Regions from separate parts of the Homo sapiens genome. Here regions 2, 3, 4 and 5 are each linked to region 1. Evidence: promoter capture Hi-C in human tissues and cell types (Jung and others, 2019). All regions are on one chromosome and are shown on one strand. Each heading gives the region's core, a stretch centred on a gene start or on the middle of the fragment in contact. The rest is flanking DNA. Distances are from core to core; before and after follow the strand shown. Region 1 holds the start of TMEM213 (transmembrane protein 213). Region 2 overlaps CREB3L2 (cAMP responsive element binding protein 3 like 2). Region 3 has its middle 27 kb from the start of TRR-CCT4-1. Region 4 has its middle 100 kb from the start of MIR4468. Region 5 has its middle 14 kb from the start of MIR4468.

Region 1 (3,483 bases), core at 950-3,449:
GTGACTAGTGGCTACCATATTGGAAGCACCACTCAGACATGGGACATTTCCACCCTCAGTGCAAGTTCTATTATTAGACAGTGCTCATGCTGACCTAGGTAGATGGAAACCAAGAGATGGATTGGAAGAACCTTCCTAGAAATTATATTGCTGTTCGTTCTGCTTCTTGGGGAATGCAAAAAGGAAAAAAAAAAAAGTGGTGGGCATGGAAACTCTCAAGGTTCCCCTGGCTGTGGGTCAGTGTGTCCTTCAAGGGAGCTTGTTGTCACAGCAGGACGAGTTCAGAAGAAACCTGCTGTTTAGCTAAAGCCATGAAGTTGCTGCTGAGACTAATTTTATGCCACCCAACCCCCAAGCCACTCCAATGTCCTGCTTAAAGTATAGTAATTGCCTCGATGCAATCTGTTACTGTAAATTATTTACAGCTAAATGGCTTAGAGCCTGGTCTTTATTTGTTTTGGAGAAACTGATTCCTCACTATTCTAATTTTCCTTATGACTCAAATAACTTCCTTGGCCCTGACTTTCATTTCACCTCTACACCTAGAATGGAAGTTGTCCTCTTCCAAAGTGAGTGGAAAAAAACCCTAGTTGGCTGAATGCTAGGGTTAGGTTCGAGCTTATGAAATTGCCATTGTTATAGGTGAAAATTGTTCAATATCAGCAATTTTCTGTGGTTCAAATGGAATAGCCCCGGTGAAAATTCCTAAGAATTTAAACATCGCCCTCCTCCCTTATAAGCAGAGCCAGAAGCGAGGGAGGGACTGGCCCTACTTGGGGCTATTCCACAAGAAAAGCTGCTGGGAAGACCCAACGATTCAGTGCAGTTAAACTTGTCTTCTGATTCTGAGCTCCCATCATAAGCAAGGCACTGTCGGGGTAAGTAGAAAGAAACTCAGCACTCTTATTTGGGGAGGGGTGAAGTTGGAAAATAAAATGAATGTGCTTACCATAATTGCTGACATTCACTGTGTGTGTTCTATGGGCTATTTCTAAGTTCTTTACATGAAATTACATCAATTCGTCTTGACAAGCACTATGATTGTCCCCATGAGATAAAGGAGGAAACTTGGCATAGAGAGGTAAAGTCATTTGCTCGAGGTCGCATAGCTAGTGAGTCATGGAAGCTGGACCTGGGTTCAGGCTCAGCGGCTCAAGAGTGCACGTCTTGAACCTCAACACCAACACCCCTGGCAGTGGCTACAGAAGAGAGTCTGAGGATGAGAGGGGCAGACACAGGACTTTGGGGGCAGGGTTGGTTTTGGGAGCAGGAGTGTTGCAGGGCATAGAGAGTGTGGTGGTGTTCTGAGGTGGCTGAGAACAAGATCAAAGCCAGGAGCAGAAGATGGTAACCAAGGTCCCTCTGCCGTGAGTTGCAGAACCCGGCCTGGCAGGGCAAGGCAGGGGATGTAGATCAGCCTTCCAGCCTCCACAGGAAAATGGGGAGATAACCCAGCATTTCCAGTGCCCGGGGAGGCAGGAGGGTGGGAGACAGTGAATGGCAGCCCTCCTGGCAGTCAGGTTTTGTGAAAGTCGCAGAGAAAGTACAAGGGGCAGGGAGGGATGGAGGACTTAGGAAAGGGAAGGTCAGACACAAATGTGCACAGGGAGGATTGCAAAGCACGACAGCCCAGTGGGGCTGAGAAGGAGCCTTCAGGACACAGCGGACCAAGAGATATCATTTTGGTCCCCTGATGGGTGAGACTCCAGCAAATAACTTTTTCCTTTCTTTGTGGCAAAGGCCAAGAGAGGTGGCTGCTCCTGCCTTAGCTGAGGAATTGAGTATCTGATCTCCGTCTCAGGCCAACCTAAGACCCCCCCTGCCCCAGCCCCACCTCCCACCCCCTGCCTAATCCTTCAGATGAGAAAGTTCTGTTTCCTCCTTCCTTTGCGCAGGACCAACCCTGGCCAAAGAATCTTCCCCCTCCTCCTTCTTTCCCTCCCACCTCTCTTCCCTCCTTCCCTCCCCCTTCCCAGCCTGGCCATGAATAAAGCTCATAACGCTACCTGCCGAGCAAGCCGAGTGGAGGGAGGCAAAGGCCAGGCTGAGGATCAGGGTGGCCCGGGTGGCAGCGGGGAGGCGCTGCATGCTGGAGGCTGTGCTGAGTGCCCGGTGCAGGTGAGCCGGTCCTGCGGAGTTGTGCCGAGTGCCTGCTGCAGGTGAGTCGACTCCCACCTGCAGGAGCTGGAAAGCAACTCTGCCAGAGGTGAACTTATGCTGGGTGTTTGGGGGAAACACCATGGGGTGGAGCAAAGGAAACTTGGCCTGTCACACCTTCTCTCACCTCTCTAGAAGGGAAGCCAAACCGTTGGCTGAGGAAGGAAGGGAGGGGCAAGCTGTGCCCTTCTCCCCTGAGCGCAAATATTGTCCTTATTGAGAAACAAGGGGAGGACAAGAGAGATCTGTGTCATGCTGGTTCCTGGGACATGAGTTTGCTGCCTCTCCCATCTGCAGGTGTAGCATGGATGCTCAATTCCATTTGGGCCAATATTCACTGAGCACCCACTATGCTGAAGTTGGGAGATACCTGCTGTCGAAGTGCGTTAATTACAAACACGCATCATTCAACCCCAGAACCGTGTTTGAGGAATGGCTTGGGAGGATAAAGCACTGTGGGTTTCAACAGTGGAGGCCACATCTGCTGATGGGATGCTTCAAGAAGAAAATGGCATTTGAGGTTGGGCATGGGGGCTCACCCTGTAGTCCCAGCACTCTGGGAGGCTGAGGCAGGTGGATCACTTGAAGTCAGGAGTTCAAGACCAGCCTGGCCAAAATGGTGAAACCCCATCTCTAATAAAAATACAAAAATTAGCCAGGTGTGGTGGTGCATGCCTGTAGTCCCAGCCACTTGGGAAGCTGAGGCAGGAAAATCGCTTGAACCCGGAAGACAGAGGTTGCAGTAAGCTGAGATGCTCCTGACCCTGCATTCCAGCTTGGCCGACAGAGGGAGACTCCATCTCCAAAAAAAAAAAAAAAAAAAAAAAGAAAATGGCATTTGGCCTGGGCCTTGAAGGATGGCTAGAATTTTGACAGGGGGAGAGGGGAAGATGGCATTATAGGTAGAGGGACAGATGAGCAAAGGTCCAGAGGTAAGGAAGTGTCAGAGGGTGGCTGTACCAGCAGCACCCAGAAGCGCAGGTGAGCCAAGGCATGTGAGGTGGGGAGGCAAGAGGAGAGCTGTGGGCTAAGCTTCTGCGTGCCTGGTAGAGGAATTTGAAACAAAGTCAGGAAGCAAAGGGGAAGGTTCTGTAGAGATTTTGAGCTGAGGAGTAACTTGACTAGAGCTCTGCATTCCGTCTAAAACATTTATTGAAGACCCACATGTATATAAAAGGTCTCATCCTAGGCACTGGAGACTGAGATGACTGAGACACGCCTCTTCCCCTTGAGAGCACAGTGCAGCAGGGAACCAAACCCGGAAGAAAGAAATTTGATGCAACCTGGCAAGACTCAAATAGGGGTACCTTCCACTGTGATGGGAAT
Region 2 (3,740 bases), core at 874-3,373, 800 kb after region 1:
CAGCCACCAAACCTTCCTAGTGAGATCACTTTTGTTGCTCTTACTAGGGATTTAGTTACTACATGCATGATTGCTAATGCTCTGTTTTAGCAAACCTGTCACATACTTGATTTAAACAATTTAGAATGTTCAAGTTACCCAAGGCTGAGATTATGATGTTTCTCAGGAGCCTTCTGTTAACCGTTAGGAGCAATGTTTTTTTTCATTTGGTTAGTTATGAAGACATCTTGGTCTACAAGGACAAAGGCAGACAGGTTCAGAGTCTACAAAATAATGAAGCATATGGATAGGGCAAAGATGGACTGATCATTAGATCCTGAATTGCTAAAGCTCTGGGCTTCCTCTTGAAGCTTAAAAAATTGTTTCCATACAGATGATGAAATGTTATTTTAATTCAGTGAGTACTGATTTTAGGAAAGCTGTTGCTTCAAGATGGAATACAGGCTAAAATTGGTTCAGAAAAGATGGCAAATCTAGAAATCAGGAGAATATCTCTTGGGGTTCGGTACCACCGTGAGAAGAAACCTTGCCTCTTTCCCCAGACCTGCCTGTATGTTGGACATTTCTGCCATTTGTATTGTATTCCTATAAAATTCTCTGAAAATTACTTTCTGGGAATTGTCTGTGCTTTTGTAATTTCTATTTTATTTTATTTTATTTTATTTTATTTTTGAGATGGGTCTTGTTCTGACACCCAGACTAGAGTGCAGTTGCTCAATCATGGCTCACTGCAGGCTTAACCTTCCAGGCTCAAGTGATCCTCCCACCTCAGCCTCCAGAGTAGCTGGGAGTATCAGTGTGTGCCACCATGCCTGGCTAATTTTTTTCTTCTTTTTTTTTGGTAGAAACGGGATCTCAGTATGTTGCCCAGGCTGGTCTCCAACTCCTGGGTTTAAGGGACCCTCTTGCCTTGGCCTCCCAAAGTGCTGGGATTACAGGTGTGAGCCACTGTGCTCAGCCCCCTTTTGCAATTTAAAGAGCAAAATAATCTATAAATTTTAAAATGTATTTTATATATGTATAAACTGTATCTGGAAGGATGCTCAAGAAGTGGATAATTTTTGGGAAAGCAGCTTGGGGAAGTGGAAGTCAAGAGATGAAGGGAAGCATGTCTACACACTATACCTGTTGGTACTATTCAGATTTTTACCTCGTCACTATGTCTAGAAAATGGAAGAAATACAACTTGTAGGCACCATGTAAAACTGGACTAGAGGTAATTTTCAACCAAGTGTTCTTGGGGGAAAAAGGGAGCTTCAGTACTATATAGAAACTCAACACCACTCAAGGTCAGTGGAGGCGTTGGATGAAGAACAGGGGAAGTGGGAAGGCCCCATGGAAAGAGGCTTTAGGGGGAGAGGTTGGCAGGTGGTTTGCCCATGATAAACATCAAGATCTTGATAATGTTCTCCTTTCTTCTATCTCAGTTTAGCCATCTGGAAAATAAAACAATTTTTGCAATTTTCGCCATGATTATATCCTTTTAAAAAAGTGTATCATAAAAACTAAGTCTTTGTGAAAGTAACAACAGAAGTTCTGCTTGTTTAAAATGCAGAATTCCTATAAAGCCAAGTTATTTGTAAAATCATTTGGTGGTTATGCTAATACAGTTTTATATCTGGTTGGTTCTTCAAGTGAAACCACTGGTCCCAGACAGTGGTAGGTAGGGAGTTGGGGGAATATTCGACCTGCCTGGTGTCCAGATGGAAAGGCCATCTGGCTTCCATGTCTTACTGAGTGCTGAAAAGGAGTTGGCTGATCTCACAGACTGTGTGGTTTCCTGTTCCTCCCGCCTGGCCCGGAGAGTGATATGATTTCAATGCGATATTGAAGCTTTTGGTTTGATGTTCCACTTTGGAGTTAACTCCTAGGGTTGGCCCCAGGCCAGGTTCTGAAGGGGCACCCGGGTCCTCATTGGCTGAGAATGTTATTACTTATGGTCACATGACCTCCACAAGCTGAATAAATGTAGTGAGTTCTAACGGGAGACAGAATTGGGAAGTAAGTATAATTTTTCCAGACCCTTGTGGCACCTTTCAACATTCTCGCCCCTTTTGTGTTCCCCTCCTTTCTTAGACATCAAGTGTTCACTGTAATGTTCTCTTTCCAATTTCATCCCTTCAAATTTTGCTGTCAGGAAAGATTTGATAAGCTTTCACTAGAAATTTTAGTGTTAGTAAGATTTAACATGTTAACCCTAAATGGGCATTTATATTTAACAATAATTACTTCAGGTCAAAAGGGTGAATCTCCACTTGGAGAACCTAGGGCGATAGCCAGGTAGTAGTGGGCGAATATTTGGGGAATGGGAGAGGAACCCTCACTGCCCTCCATTATTTCATAATGTGGCTCTTATTCATAAGGCAGCCTTGTTTATGTGTTGCTAATTTGTCTATGATCTAGAGGATTTCCCTTGGCTTAGCAAAAAATCTTTGACGGATTATTTTACTGTCTCTGAAATTGTTCTCATGATAGTAACATTGGTTGGGAGGTGGTAGACATAGGCACAGTCCTGAAAGATGAGAGGGCAGTACAGAGTTTTATATTTGCCCTCCTTCTCGAATGATCCCTGAGTTACAGTGTTCATGGGAAACAGGGGTCTCTGATGTGACATTGCTTTTGCAGGAGTTATAAGATATAGCATCTAGATTAATAATTGAATTAATTACAGTGCTTGCAGCTAGAAGTAACTGAAAATGGATTCAGATCGGCTCATACAGTAAGTAAATTATCTCATGTTGCAAGAGGTTGTGAAATAGAGCCCCTGGCCGGGCGCGGTGGCTGACGCCTGTAATCCCAGCACTTTGGGGGGCCAAGGCAGGTGGATCACAAGGTCAGGAGTTCAAGAGCAGCCTGGCCGAGATGGTGAAACCCTGTCTCTACTAAAAATACAAAAATTAGCTGGGCGTGGTGGCGGGCGCCTGTAATCCCAGCTACTCGGGAGGCTGAGGCAGGAGAATCCCTTGAACCTGGGGGGTGGAGGTTGCAGTGAGCCAAGATCATGCCACTGCACTCCAGCCTTGGTGACAGAGTGAGATTCTGTCTCAAAAAAAAAAAAAAAAAAAGAAAGAAAAGAAAAAAAAAGAAATAGAGCTCCTTGTTGGCTGATTCAGCAGTTCCTCAATGGACCTTGGTTCTGCCCATGTGCAGCTTTCATCCTCAGGTTGGATGTGTGATGGACATAGGAGTTACAGGGGTTACATTCAAAATGACAACATCCAGAGGAAGAAGAGAAGTTGTCTCTTTCTTGTGTCCCTTTTTTAGAATGGAAGAAACTTTTCTTACTAGCCCACTAGCTGATTTTTCTTAAAGCTTTATTGGTAAGGATTCGGTCATATGACCATTCTTAAGCCAATGGCTGGAAAGGAGAATGGGATTTATATTATCAGCTTAGATTAATCATATGGGGATGGAGACTCAACCAGCATGACCATTGGGATCATTAGTAAAATAGTCTGAGTTAACAATTCTTTCCTTAGTCAAAAGGTATGTTTCTTTTCTCATGAACATGGGCTAGCAACTAGAAAATTTAAAATTCACAGTAATTTGCCCTGGGCGCAAAACAGTAAACCCAAGTACTGTGCCACTCGCAGAGTTCTTTTGTTTTTTGTTTTTAAATAGAGACAGGGTCTCCTTATGTTGCCTAGGCTGGTCTTGAACCCCTGGGCTCAAGGGATCCTCTGCCTCGGCCTCCCACAGTGCTAGGATTACAGGCATGAGCTATCACGTCCGGCCCAGCA
Region 3 (3,425 bases), core at 174-2,673, 520 kb before region 1:
GCACTTTGGGAGGCAGAGGCGGGTGGATCACGAGGTCAGGAGATCGAGACCATCCTGGCTAACACAGTGAAACCCCGTCTCTACTAAAAATACAAAAAATTAGCCGGGCGTGGTGGTGGGCAACTGTACTCCCAGGTACTCAGGAGGCTGAGGCAGGAGATTGGCGTGAACCCGGGAGGCGGAGCTTGCAGTGAGCCGAGATTGTGCCACTGCACTCCAGCATGGGCGACAGAGCGAGATTCCATCTCAAATAATAATAATAATATTATTATTATTATTATATCAAAAAGATATAACCATAATGAACATATATGCATCCAAAAACATTCACGGTTCTTTGAAAAGTTATTGAGAAGGAAGAATGGCAAGACTGATTAAGAGTCAGATGATGCATCGAAACAAGGCACAGCATGAAAACAGAAGCAAACACACTGGAGGTTACAATCAATTAAAAATTGGCCGGGCACCGTGGCTCACGCCTGTAATCCCAGCACTTTGGGAGGTCAGGTGGGCAGATCCCCTGAAGTCAGGAGTTCATGACCATCCTGGCCAACATGGTGAGACCCTGTCTCTACTAAAAATACAAAAATTAGCTGGGTGTGGTGGTGCATTCCTATAATTCCAGCTACTTGGGAGGCTGAGGCAGGACACTAGCTTGAACCGGGGAGACAGAGGTTGCAGTGAGCCGAGATCAGACCATAGCAGTCCAGCCTGGGCGACACAGCAAGACTCCGTCTAAAAAAATAAATAAATAAGTAATCCTACAAATACACTTCTTTTTTTGAGATGGAGTTTCTCTTTGTCGCCCAGGCTGGAGTACAGTGGCACGATAGCAGCTCACTGCAACCTCTCTCTGCCTCCCGGGTTCAAGCGATTCTCCTGCCTCAGACTCCCCAGTGGCTGGGACTACAGGAGCCCATATCCACACCCAGCTAATTTTTGTATTTTTAGTAGAGATGGGGTTTCACCATATTGGCCAGGCTAGTCTTGAACTCCTGACCTTGTGATCCGCCTGCCTTGGCCTCCCAAAGTGCTGGGATTACAGGCGTGAACCACTGCACCCAGCCACAAATAAACTTCTAAAAGAGTTTCTGGGCCAGGTGCGGTGACTCACGCCTGTAATCCCAGCACTTTGGGAGGCTGAGGCAGGCGGATCACCTGAAGTCAGGAGTTCAAGGCCAGCCTGACCAACATGGTGAAACCCCATCTCTACTAAAAATACAAAATTAGCCAGGCATGGTGGCACACGCCTGTAATCCCAGCTACTTGGGAGGCTGAGGCAAGAGAATCACTTGAACCCAGGAGGCGGAGGTTGCAATGAGCTGAGATTGCGCCACTGCACTCCAGCCTGGGCAACAAGAGCAAAACTCTGTCTCAAAAAAAAAAAAAAAATTCTGTCATTGTTGATCATATATAGGTATTATGGGAAAAGCACTTGATCTAATTCAGCGCATGCATATAATCAACCTTCCCAGAAAATTAGGAATAGAACTTTCTTAAGTTCATAAAAACTATATACCAAAAATCTAGAATAACACCATCCTTAATGGAGAAGACTTAGATCAATAAGGAACAAAGATTTTAATGTTCCCATTAAAATATGGAACAAAGATGCCACGTTCCCCATTACTGTTTAGCATAGTATTAAAGGACCAGTCTAATGCTCTAAGACGTAAAATGTGAAATTGAAAGAGGAGATAAAACTGTCATTATTTGTACATTATATGATCACTTCCATTGAAAAGCTAGTAAAATAATCAGATGAATTATTAGAATAACAGTTTAGCAAAATTGCTCGATATAAAATCAACTTTAAAGGATCAATAGCATTCCTTAGTACCAACAATAAATCAGAAAACAAAGAATAAGATACAATTCATGGAAGCAACAGCTATAAAATACCTCGAAATTAATATATAAACAAGACCTTCATAGAGAAGTTTTAAAAGCTTTATTGGAAGACACAAAAAAAATCTGTAACTTAAAGATTCTATTATTCTTCTTAAACCACTATATAGGCCCCAAAGAATGTGAATTTAATGCAAATTCAATCCTAATCAATATTTCAACTGGATTTTAAATGGAAGTGGAAAATTTTATTCTAAAATTTCTATGGAAGAATAAAAATCCATAATTAGCTGGGCCAACATAGAGTAACAAAGACGGGGACTCTCTTTACTAGATACTAAGGCATATTTTTAAGTCTATGGTAATAGAAAACAGTAAGATACTGGTGTGGAAATAAAAAGAACAATGGAACAGAGCCCAAAAATAGATCTTTCCATATATGAGAACTGGATATATGATAAAAATGGTACCACAAATTAATGGGAGAAATATTGATCTGTTAGGTGGTATTGGGAAAACTGCTTCACTAAATACAGAAAAATAAAGCTGGATCCCTACATTACACAGTATACAAAGGTGGATGCCAGATGGATTGTAAATGAAAAGGTGAAGGCAAAACTATAAAGCTCATAGGAGAAAATGCTGGAGGATATCTTTGTGGTGTAGGGCTAGGGAAATATTTCATAAGTAAACTGCCCAAAACACAAACATAAGACAAAAAGTAGATTAATTAAAAAGGATTTCGTTCAATAAAGGATGTCACAGACAAAGTTAAAAGACAGGTAACAGACAAAAGTAACTGACACATCTAAAACTGGTAAGAGATTAATGTCCACAACAAGAAACCAAAATGCAATTGCACGATGAGCAAAGATCAACACGCAGTTGACAGAAGGGAAGACTAACTATCACCTTGTTTTTGGTAATAAGGAATTGAAGATAACCTAGTTACCCACTGTGAGGGGAACAGGTATGTATAATGTGGTGCGTGCACACTAGGGAATCCGTGTAGCAGTAAGAAGCAACACCCTAAATGTACGCATAGCAACGTGGATGTATCTAAGTAAGTAGAAAACAGTAAACATGGCTACCACAGTACTATTGGTATGAATTAAAATTGTATACACACGACACAACACTACTTACTTCGAAGAATGCCTGCGAAACAAGGGGCACATATCAAAAAAGTTAGAGTGGTGCCTGTGGGACAGAGCAGAGTGGGGACTAAGGAAGAGGAGAAACTTCATGGATAATGAAGTGAGGGAATGAGTTCTCCAGCTGACTGATGACAATGTGCTATGAATCAAGGCATATGATTGACGCATTACTTTGCATTTGAGTACAAAGTAAGAAATTATCCACAGCACATACTCGCATGTAGTTTGAAACTACAGCAGGCATTTGACTATAGAAAGAGAGACTGAGGCTGTCACGGACTCCCTGCGGAGCCAGGCCCTTGGAATGGCAGAGTGGAGACAGAGCTGGATCTTGGTGACGTGGAATCACTCCATGACGCTACATCTAAACCAAATATCTGTAAGACCACTCAGATGAACCAGATTCCCTTGACTTTTTCA
Region 4 (3,704 bases), core at 1,163-3,662, 570 kb after region 1:
GGAATTCCACAGGAGTTCAGCATAGAGCGGAACAGTGGTTCTCAACTGGGGCTGATTTTGTTATCATTGGGGAAAGGTGTGTGTGTGGTTGCTACTTGCATCAAGTTAATGGATTCTAAGTAGCACAAAATGCTGCTAAACATGCTACAATGCACAGGCAGCCTCCTGCAATAAAGAAAAATGTCAATAGCGCTGAGAATGAGAAATCCTGGAGGAGGAGAATAATAGTTAATTTTTTTTTTTTTTTTTTTTTTTTTGAGACAGTCTCACTCTGTCGCCCAGGCTGGAGTGCAGTGGCACCGTGTCAGCTCACTGCAACCTCTGTCTCCTGGGTTCAAGCAATCCTCCTGCCTCAGCCTCCCAAGTAGCTGGGATTACAGGCGCCCACCACCACACTCAGCTAATTTTTGTATTTTTTAGTAGAGATGGGGTTTCACCACGTTGGCCAGGCTGGTCTTGATCTCCTGACCTCGTGATCCACCCACCTCAGCTTCCCAAAGTGCTGGTATTACAGGCATGAGCCACCGTGCCTGGCCCTAGTTAATTATTTCTAAGTAGCATTTTAGATTGAGCACCAATTCATAGATTTACTAACAGAACAGAGGGTTATAACCTCTGATCTCAGCTATAAGAAATCAGCTCCCAGTTTGGAATCTGAAGCCCTGGGTCTCGACCTGAGCCTTGCTTTTTATTATGACTGGCAAGACGGCAGCCTCTTTGAGCTCAGCTACTTAATTTGTTACATAGTGATAGTAATAGCTGCCTACCTTATAGTAAATGCTATAACAGATATGAAAACATGGAACAGTATCAGTGGTCCTAAAATAATGATTGGAAATTAACAAGCCTGGATTATCTTATCCATATGGTGTTTTTTTGTTTGTTTGTTTGTTTTCTTCTTGAGGCAAAATGGCTTACTTCTGACCAGTGGTGACATTAAGAAGAACAAAAAGAATTGATTTGGAATTGATCACTCATTTTGGATCTTCATTTGTAAAATGCCCATTTATTGCTTGAGTTGGGGGCTACCAGGTGTGAGGATGCAAGTTTGAAGAAGGTATATTTCTTTGCACTAGGAAAAAAAATAGAATAGGTAGAGAAAGAATTGGGGAGGGCCAAGGGGGAAGCAATGTAGCTAAGACAACAATCATGATAAACGAAGGATGTAAGTTTTGCTGTGAGAGATACAGTGTAACTCTCTCTTCAATCTCACTGTAAAGTCTTTAGTAAAATCTTCTTCACTCCACTATGCCTTATGAGTTCATACTGGTTTTATATCATTTTGTTTTTTATACAATCAAGTACTGAGTCCTGCTTTGCTGTGAATATGCGGGGCTACCACTAGCCCATGTTAAGGAACATTATCGAAAACTTGGACCTAAGGCGAAAGGTGATTAATGTCATGCTAAGAACATTTCTAGCAAGCCCACCCAAGGACCATCTGACTCAGGAAATTTAAGCTTGTTGGCATAATTCATTAGAACCCAGAGACTTTGCAATTCTGTAAAGTTGATCTGGTACAACAACTTTCTTTTTTGTTGAGTAGGAAAGGTAAAGCAGAAGGTTATGATTTTTTAAAATAATTTTTTTCGAGGCAGGGTCTGGCTCTGTTACCCAGGTGGGAGTGCAGTGGCGTGACCTCCTGAGCTCAAGCCATCCTCCTGCCTTATTTTTTTATTTTTTTCTAGAGACAAGGTCTCATTATGTTGTCCAGGCTGGTTTCAAACTCCTGACCTCAAACAAGAAGGTTATGATCGTATTATTCCTGTAAGATTATTATTTTTTAAAATTTTAGAGACAGGGTCTCTGTTACTCAGGCTGGAGTGCAGTGGTGGTATCATATCTCACTGCAGCCTCAAACTCCAGGGCTCAAGCAATCCTCCCACCTCAGGTGCGTACCACTATGCCGAGCTAATTCTTTAAATTTTTGTAGAGATGAGGTCACTATGCTGCCCAGGCTGCTCTTGAACTCCTGGCCTCAAGTGATCCTGAAGCCGTCTAGGGTCTCTGGAGCAGTCTTGTTGTCTGGGGTGTTATCTGAGCTCTTTGTCTCATGACCAAGAGAATTAAGGAGTGTGGACACCAAAAGTGAGGTTGGAGCAAAAGTTTAATAAGTGAAAGAAGAAAGCTTTCCTCTGTGGAGATGGGGCCTGAGAGCGTTGCTATTTCACAGTTGAATACAAAGTCTTTTATAAACAAGCCAGTGGGGTGGGGTGTTTCATTTGCATATGGTGCAAAAAACCAGTTCCTTATTTGCATAAGATGCAAATTTCTGACAGCTCCACCCCATCCCTCTAGTGAGCATGTGAGTTCTTAACATGAGTTACTCCATATTGTGTCATTTCCCTTACTGCACACGTGTCAGGAGATGGAATTTTCCATTGTGGACCTGCCTGATTCAGTGTAAATTTAATCTATACAGCTGCAGGCCTGTCTTAGGCAAGCCCCCTGATGCCAGTCCCCTTATCTGAATATGCCCAAAAAGGAAAGGAATGCGCTCACTGAAGCCCACTCTGTATACCTGGAGCTCATTTGTTGCTCAAAAGATAAATGTGTTGAGCCTTGCTTCCTTATCTGTGCTTGCAGCTTGATTTCTTCCAGGCTGATCCTTTGTTGGAAGGGCTTCTACTGGGTGTCTGTCTGAACTATCTGCCTAACTAGTTCCTTCCTCTCTCTTCTCTCAATCCTCCCACCTCAGCCTCCCAAAGTGCTGGGATTATAGGAGTGAATGGCACCTGGCCCCCTTAGGGTTTTAATCATCATATAACTTTATCTAATTTAACAACTTTATTTCAGCATTACTGCCCCCTCTCCACTTATCATAAAAATCTAGTTTCTTAAATTCTCTTTTGAACTGGGCTTTTCATCCTTCTGGGTTCCTTATTAATGAGTTTAATAAATATTTGACATGAACTCACTAGTTGTATTAGAATTATGTTTTTAACATTTTGAGAGCTATGCCTTAGCACCTGTAGCCAGCTTTTGTGAGATTTAGGAAAAAGGTATCCCTTCCTTGAGTATAATTAGTTTTCTTTTCCTTAAGCACAATTTTTAGAAGGTATTATAATTTTTCTTTCTTTATTTATTCTCTTTAAAATAGAGACAAGGTCTCCCTGTGTTACCTAGGCTGGTCTCAAATCCTGGGCTCAAGAGATTCTCCTTCCTTGGCTTCCCAAAATGCTAGGATTACAAACATGAGCCATCATGCCTGACTATATTTATTTCTTAATAAAAATTATAGCAAGAATGAAGTCATTCTATACAAATTCTACAAATTGAATGATTAAATAAATAGGAAGCACAAATATTTAATTACACTAAGAACTCACTAGAATAATTAAGAAATCATTAGGAATTAATTTGTTAGAAGGTAGTTATATGCATCTTACTTTCAGAGACAAAACATTTTAATGACAGTTTTGAGGCAGGAGAATAAGGTCTGGGAGCAGGAAACCTAAGGCCTTCTTAGAACTAAATCAAACAGAAAAACTCCAACTTTCTTAGACCAAGTAAATAACTTTGTATCTCTACTTCAGCTATGACAGGAAACATCCTCTTAATTTGCATAAGGTGTACACCAAGTAAATAACTTTGTAACCTCACTTCATCTTCTTTATTTTCATAGTGTGTACTCCAAGTAAATAACTTTGTAACTTCACTTCAGCCTTTTCATTTACAAAGGGCTTACACCAAGTAATCAATGG
Region 5 (3,787 bases), core at 921-3,420, 660 kb after region 1:
CACAGATTACATAAATTGAAGAAAACCATCTTCTGTCTCTTATTTTAATACTTCCCTTGTTTATTGTAAATGGCAGATGTTTATGTAATAGAAGAAAGCTCTGTTAGTATGTACTTTTGATGACTTTGCACCAAGAAAAATGCATTTAACATATATATAAACCTGTGCAAAATGTGTTCCTTAGAGTTAGAACTCAAAATGAATTTGAGATGTTGTATTGCCTGTTCTAGTATTACTTCCTCGTCTAAATTGCTTCAGTGATTTTCTATATCCTTCTAGGAAAAACAAGACTAAAGTTCTGTCATGTCCTATTTACCTATCTAGGCTTATCTCAAACCATCACTTATCTGAGTCAGTTCTTAGCATAGATGAATATGCAAATTGTGACATCAAAAATACAGAATGTGGCCAGACGTGGTGGTTCACACCTGTAATCTCGGCACACTGGGAGGCCAATGCAGTCAGATCACTTGAGGCCAGGAGTTCGAGAGCAGCCTGGCCAACATGGTGAAACCCCATCTCTACTAAAAATACAAAAATTACCAGGGCATGGTTGCATGCACCCGTAATCCCAGCTACTCAAGAGGCTGAGGTTGGAGAACTGCTTGAACCCAGGAGGTGGACGTTGTAGTGAGTCAAGATCATGCCATTGCACTCCAGCCTGGGTAACAGAGTAAGACTTTGTGTGTGTGTGTGTGTGTGTGTGTGTGTGTGTGTGTGTGTGGTGTATAAAATATTTATTTTTTTCAAGTTTCTTCAAATGTCATAATTAAAATATATATAGAGAATGTTGGGGAGGGGATCAAATTTAAATTACTATAAGCTTAAAATAGCATGTTATAACTATAAGGTGTTATATGTAAGCCTCATGGTAATCACAAAGAAAAGACCTATCAAAGATACGTAAAAGATAAAGAGAAATGAATGAAAGCGTATCTAGTTATAGTTTAAATATGGTTTGTCTACTTTAAACCTCATGTTGAATTTTTAAAAAACTTTTAAATTTCAGTAGCTTCAGAGGCACTAGTGTTTTTTGGTTACATGGATGAATTGGATAGTGGTGAAGTCTAGGATTTTAGTGCATCTGTCACCTGAGTAGTGTACATTGTACCCAATAGGTAGTTTTTCATCCCTCAGCCCCCTCTCACCCTCTTCCCTTCTGAGTCTCTAATGCCCATTATACCATTCTGTATGCCTTTGTGTGCCCATAGCTTAGCTCCCACTTATAAATGAGAACATGTGGTATTTTGGACTCATGTTGAAATTTGATTTTCTATGTTGGAGGTGGGGCGTAATGTGAGATGTTTGGATTGTGGGGGCAGATCTCTCATGAGTAAGTTAATGCCCTCCATTGGGGGTGACTGTGTTCTCACTCTGTTAGTTCCCATGAGAGGTAATTGTTAAACAGAGCCTTGCACCTCCGCCTCTGGCTTCCTCTCTTGCCATGAGATCTCTGCATATTCCAGCTCCCCTTCACCTCCTACCATAAATGGAAGCCCTCACCAGATGCCCAATCTTGAACTTTTCCAAACATCAGAATTGTAGCCAAAGAAACCTTTTTTCTTTAAAAATTACTCAGCCTCGGATATCCCTTCATAGCAATACAAAACAGAATAAGACAATACCATTACAGAAAATCATCATATCACAAAGAAAGACAGCAAGAGAGGAAGAAAGAAACAAAGGATCTGCCAAACAGCCAGACAACAATGAACAAAATGGAAATAGTCCTTACTTTCAGTAATTATTTTACATTAAATAAATTAAACTCACTGATCAAAAGACATGGAATGGCTGAAAGGATAGAAAAAAGACTCAACTCTATGCTGCTTACAAAACACTCACTTCAGCTTCAAGAATAAACGTGAACTGAAAGTAAAGAGATATAAAAAGACATCCCATACAAAAGGAAACCAGAAGAGAGGAGGAGTAGCCACACTTATGTCAGACAAATACATTTTAAGTCAAAAACTGTGAAAAGAGACATACAGTGCCATTATATCGTGATAAAGAGATCAATTCATCAAGATGATAGAACAATAGGTAATATGGAACAATATATAATACACACACACACACACACACACACACACTATTATGTACCCAACATTGGAGAACATAAATACATAAAGAAAATATTAATAGGTCTGAAGGGAGAAGTAGACAGCAAGACAATAATAGTAGGAGACTTCAACATTGCACTTTCAACAATGGATAGATTTTCCAGACAGAAAATCAATAAGAAAACATTGGACTTGAACTATACTTTAGACTAAATGGACCTAACAGACACATACAGAATATTCCATCCAACAGCAGCAGGATACACATTCTTCTGAAGCACACATAAAACATTCTCTAAGATCATATATTAGGCCACAAAACAAGTCTTAACAAATTTCAAAAATTGAAACAATGTGGTCAGGAGTGGTGGCTCCTGTCTGTAATTCTAGCACTTTGGGAGGCTGAGATGGGAGGATCGCATGAAGCCAGGAATTTGAGACCAGCCTGGTCAACGTATCAAGACTCTATTTATGTATATTTTAATGTATTTATTATAAAAATCTATTATATGTATCTATGTATATTTTTGTATATTTTATAAAAATTAAAAAAAATGAAACTATGTCAACTATCTTTTCCAACAACAGTGGTATGAAATTAGAAATAAATAACAGAAGGAAAACTGGAAACTCAGAAATATATGGAAATTAAACATCATACTCCTGAACAACCAATGGGTCAAAGAAGAAATTGAAGGAGAAATTAAAAAAAATATATTGAGACAAACAAAAATGGAAACCCTACATAACAAAATGTATGGAATGCAGTAAAAACAGTTCCAACAAGGAAGTTTATAGCAATAAATACCTACATTAAAAAAGAAGAAGGATCTCAAATAAGTAATCTAACATTATTCCTTAAGGAACTCAAAAAAGAAGAACAAACTAAGCCCAATGTTAGTAGAAGAAACGAAATAATACAGATCAGAGCAGGAAAAAAAAAAGAGAATAGGAAAAGAATAGAAAAGATCAACAAAACTTTTTTGAAGACATAAACAAAATTGACAAACCTTTAGCTAGCCTAAGAACAAAAGAGAGATGACTCAAATAAAATTAGAAACCAAAGAGGAGCCATTACAGCAGATAACACAGAAATACAAAGGATTGGCTGGGCACAGTGGCCCAGGCCAAGGTGGGTGGATCACTTAAGGTCAGGAGTTCGAGATCAGCCTGGCCAACATGGCAAAACCCCGTCTCTGCTAAAAATACAAAAATTATCTGGGCATAGTCGTGTGCGCCTGTTGTCCCAGCTACTCAGGAGGCTAAGGCACAAGAATAATCTGAACCTAAGAGGCAGAGGGTGCAGTGAGCTGAGATCGCGCCACTGCATTCCAGCCTGGGCAATAGGGTGAGACTCTGTCAAAAAAAAAAAAAAAAAAAAAAAAAAAGAAGGAAATACAAGGATCATAGGAGACTACTATGAATAATTATATAACAACAAATTGGATAACCTAGAATAAACAGATAAATTCCTAGAAATATACAACCTGACAAGACTGAATCATGAAGAAATAGAAAATTCGGACAGATCAGTAAGGAGATTAAATATTAAATCACTAATAAGCCAATGTGGTGGCTTATGCCTGTAATCCCAGCACTTGGGAGGCCGAGGTGGGCCGATTACGAGGTCAGGAGTTTGAGACCAGCCGGACCAACATGGTGAAACCCTGTCTCCACTAAAAACATGAAAATTAGCTGGGTGTGGTGGTGGGCACCTGTAATCC

What was found. The method cuts DNA at HindIII sites, captures the fragments that hold promoters and counts their contacts. A contact is called where the count stands out against the background at its distance.
Region 2: a contact is called between a fragment that was not itself captured here and the fragment with the promoter of TMEM213 in region 1, in 2 of the 25 tissues and cell types used here (mesendoderm cells and thymus).
Region 3: a fragment that was not itself captured here is called in contact with the fragment with the promoter of TMEM213 in region 1 in 1 of the 25 tissues and cell types used here (liver).
Region 4: a contact is called between a fragment that was not itself captured here and the fragment with the promoter of TMEM213 in region 1, in 5 of the 25 tissues and cell types used here (IMR-90 fibroblasts, bladder, dorsolateral prefrontal cortex and 2 more).
Region 5: a fragment that was not itself captured here is called in contact with the fragment with the promoter of TMEM213 in region 1 in 2 of the 25 tissues and cell types used here (hippocampus and stomach).

What each region holds. Positions count from the first base shown.
Region 1 is chr7:138,796,710-138,800,192 of GRCh38, reverse strand. It overlaps TMEM213 (transmembrane protein 213), which reads right to left and starts at 2,199. Exons shown (of 3, transcript NM_001085429.2): 1 at 2,007-2,199. The coding sequence starts at 2,088. It overlaps ATP6V0A4 (ATPase H+ transporting V0 subunit a4), which reads left to right and starts at 1,997. Exons shown (of 22, transcript NM_020632.3): 1 at 1,997-2,159. RefSeq lists a silencer at 1,935-2,229. The HindIII fragment of the contact is 6,104 bases long and covers 1-3,483 here.
Region 2 is chr7:137,994,659-137,998,398 of GRCh38, reverse strand. All of the region lies in intron 1 of CREB3L2 (cAMP responsive element binding protein 3 like 2), which reads left to right. Among named protein-coding and RNA genes, the nearest start is that of CREB3L2, 5.6 kb to the left of the region's middle. The HindIII fragment of the contact is 4,722 bases long and covers 1-3,740 here.
Region 3 is chr7:139,311,817-139,315,241 of GRCh38, reverse strand. It overlaps a transcript of UBN2 not described here. Among named protein-coding and RNA genes, the nearest start is that of TRR-CCT4-1, 27 kb to the left of the region's middle. The HindIII fragment of the contact is 9,197 bases long and covers 1-3,425 here.
Region 4 is chr7:138,222,391-138,226,094 of GRCh38, reverse strand. No RefSeq gene overlaps it. Among named protein-coding and RNA genes, the nearest start is that of MIR4468, 100 kb to the right of the region's middle. The HindIII fragment of the contact is 4,590 bases long and covers 118-3,704 here.
Region 5 is chr7:138,136,067-138,139,853 of GRCh38, reverse strand. No RefSeq gene overlaps it. Among named protein-coding and RNA genes, the nearest start is that of MIR4468, 14 kb to the right of the region's middle. RefSeq lists an enhancer at 1,372-1,481. The HindIII fragment of the contact is 7,042 bases long and covers 1-3,787 here.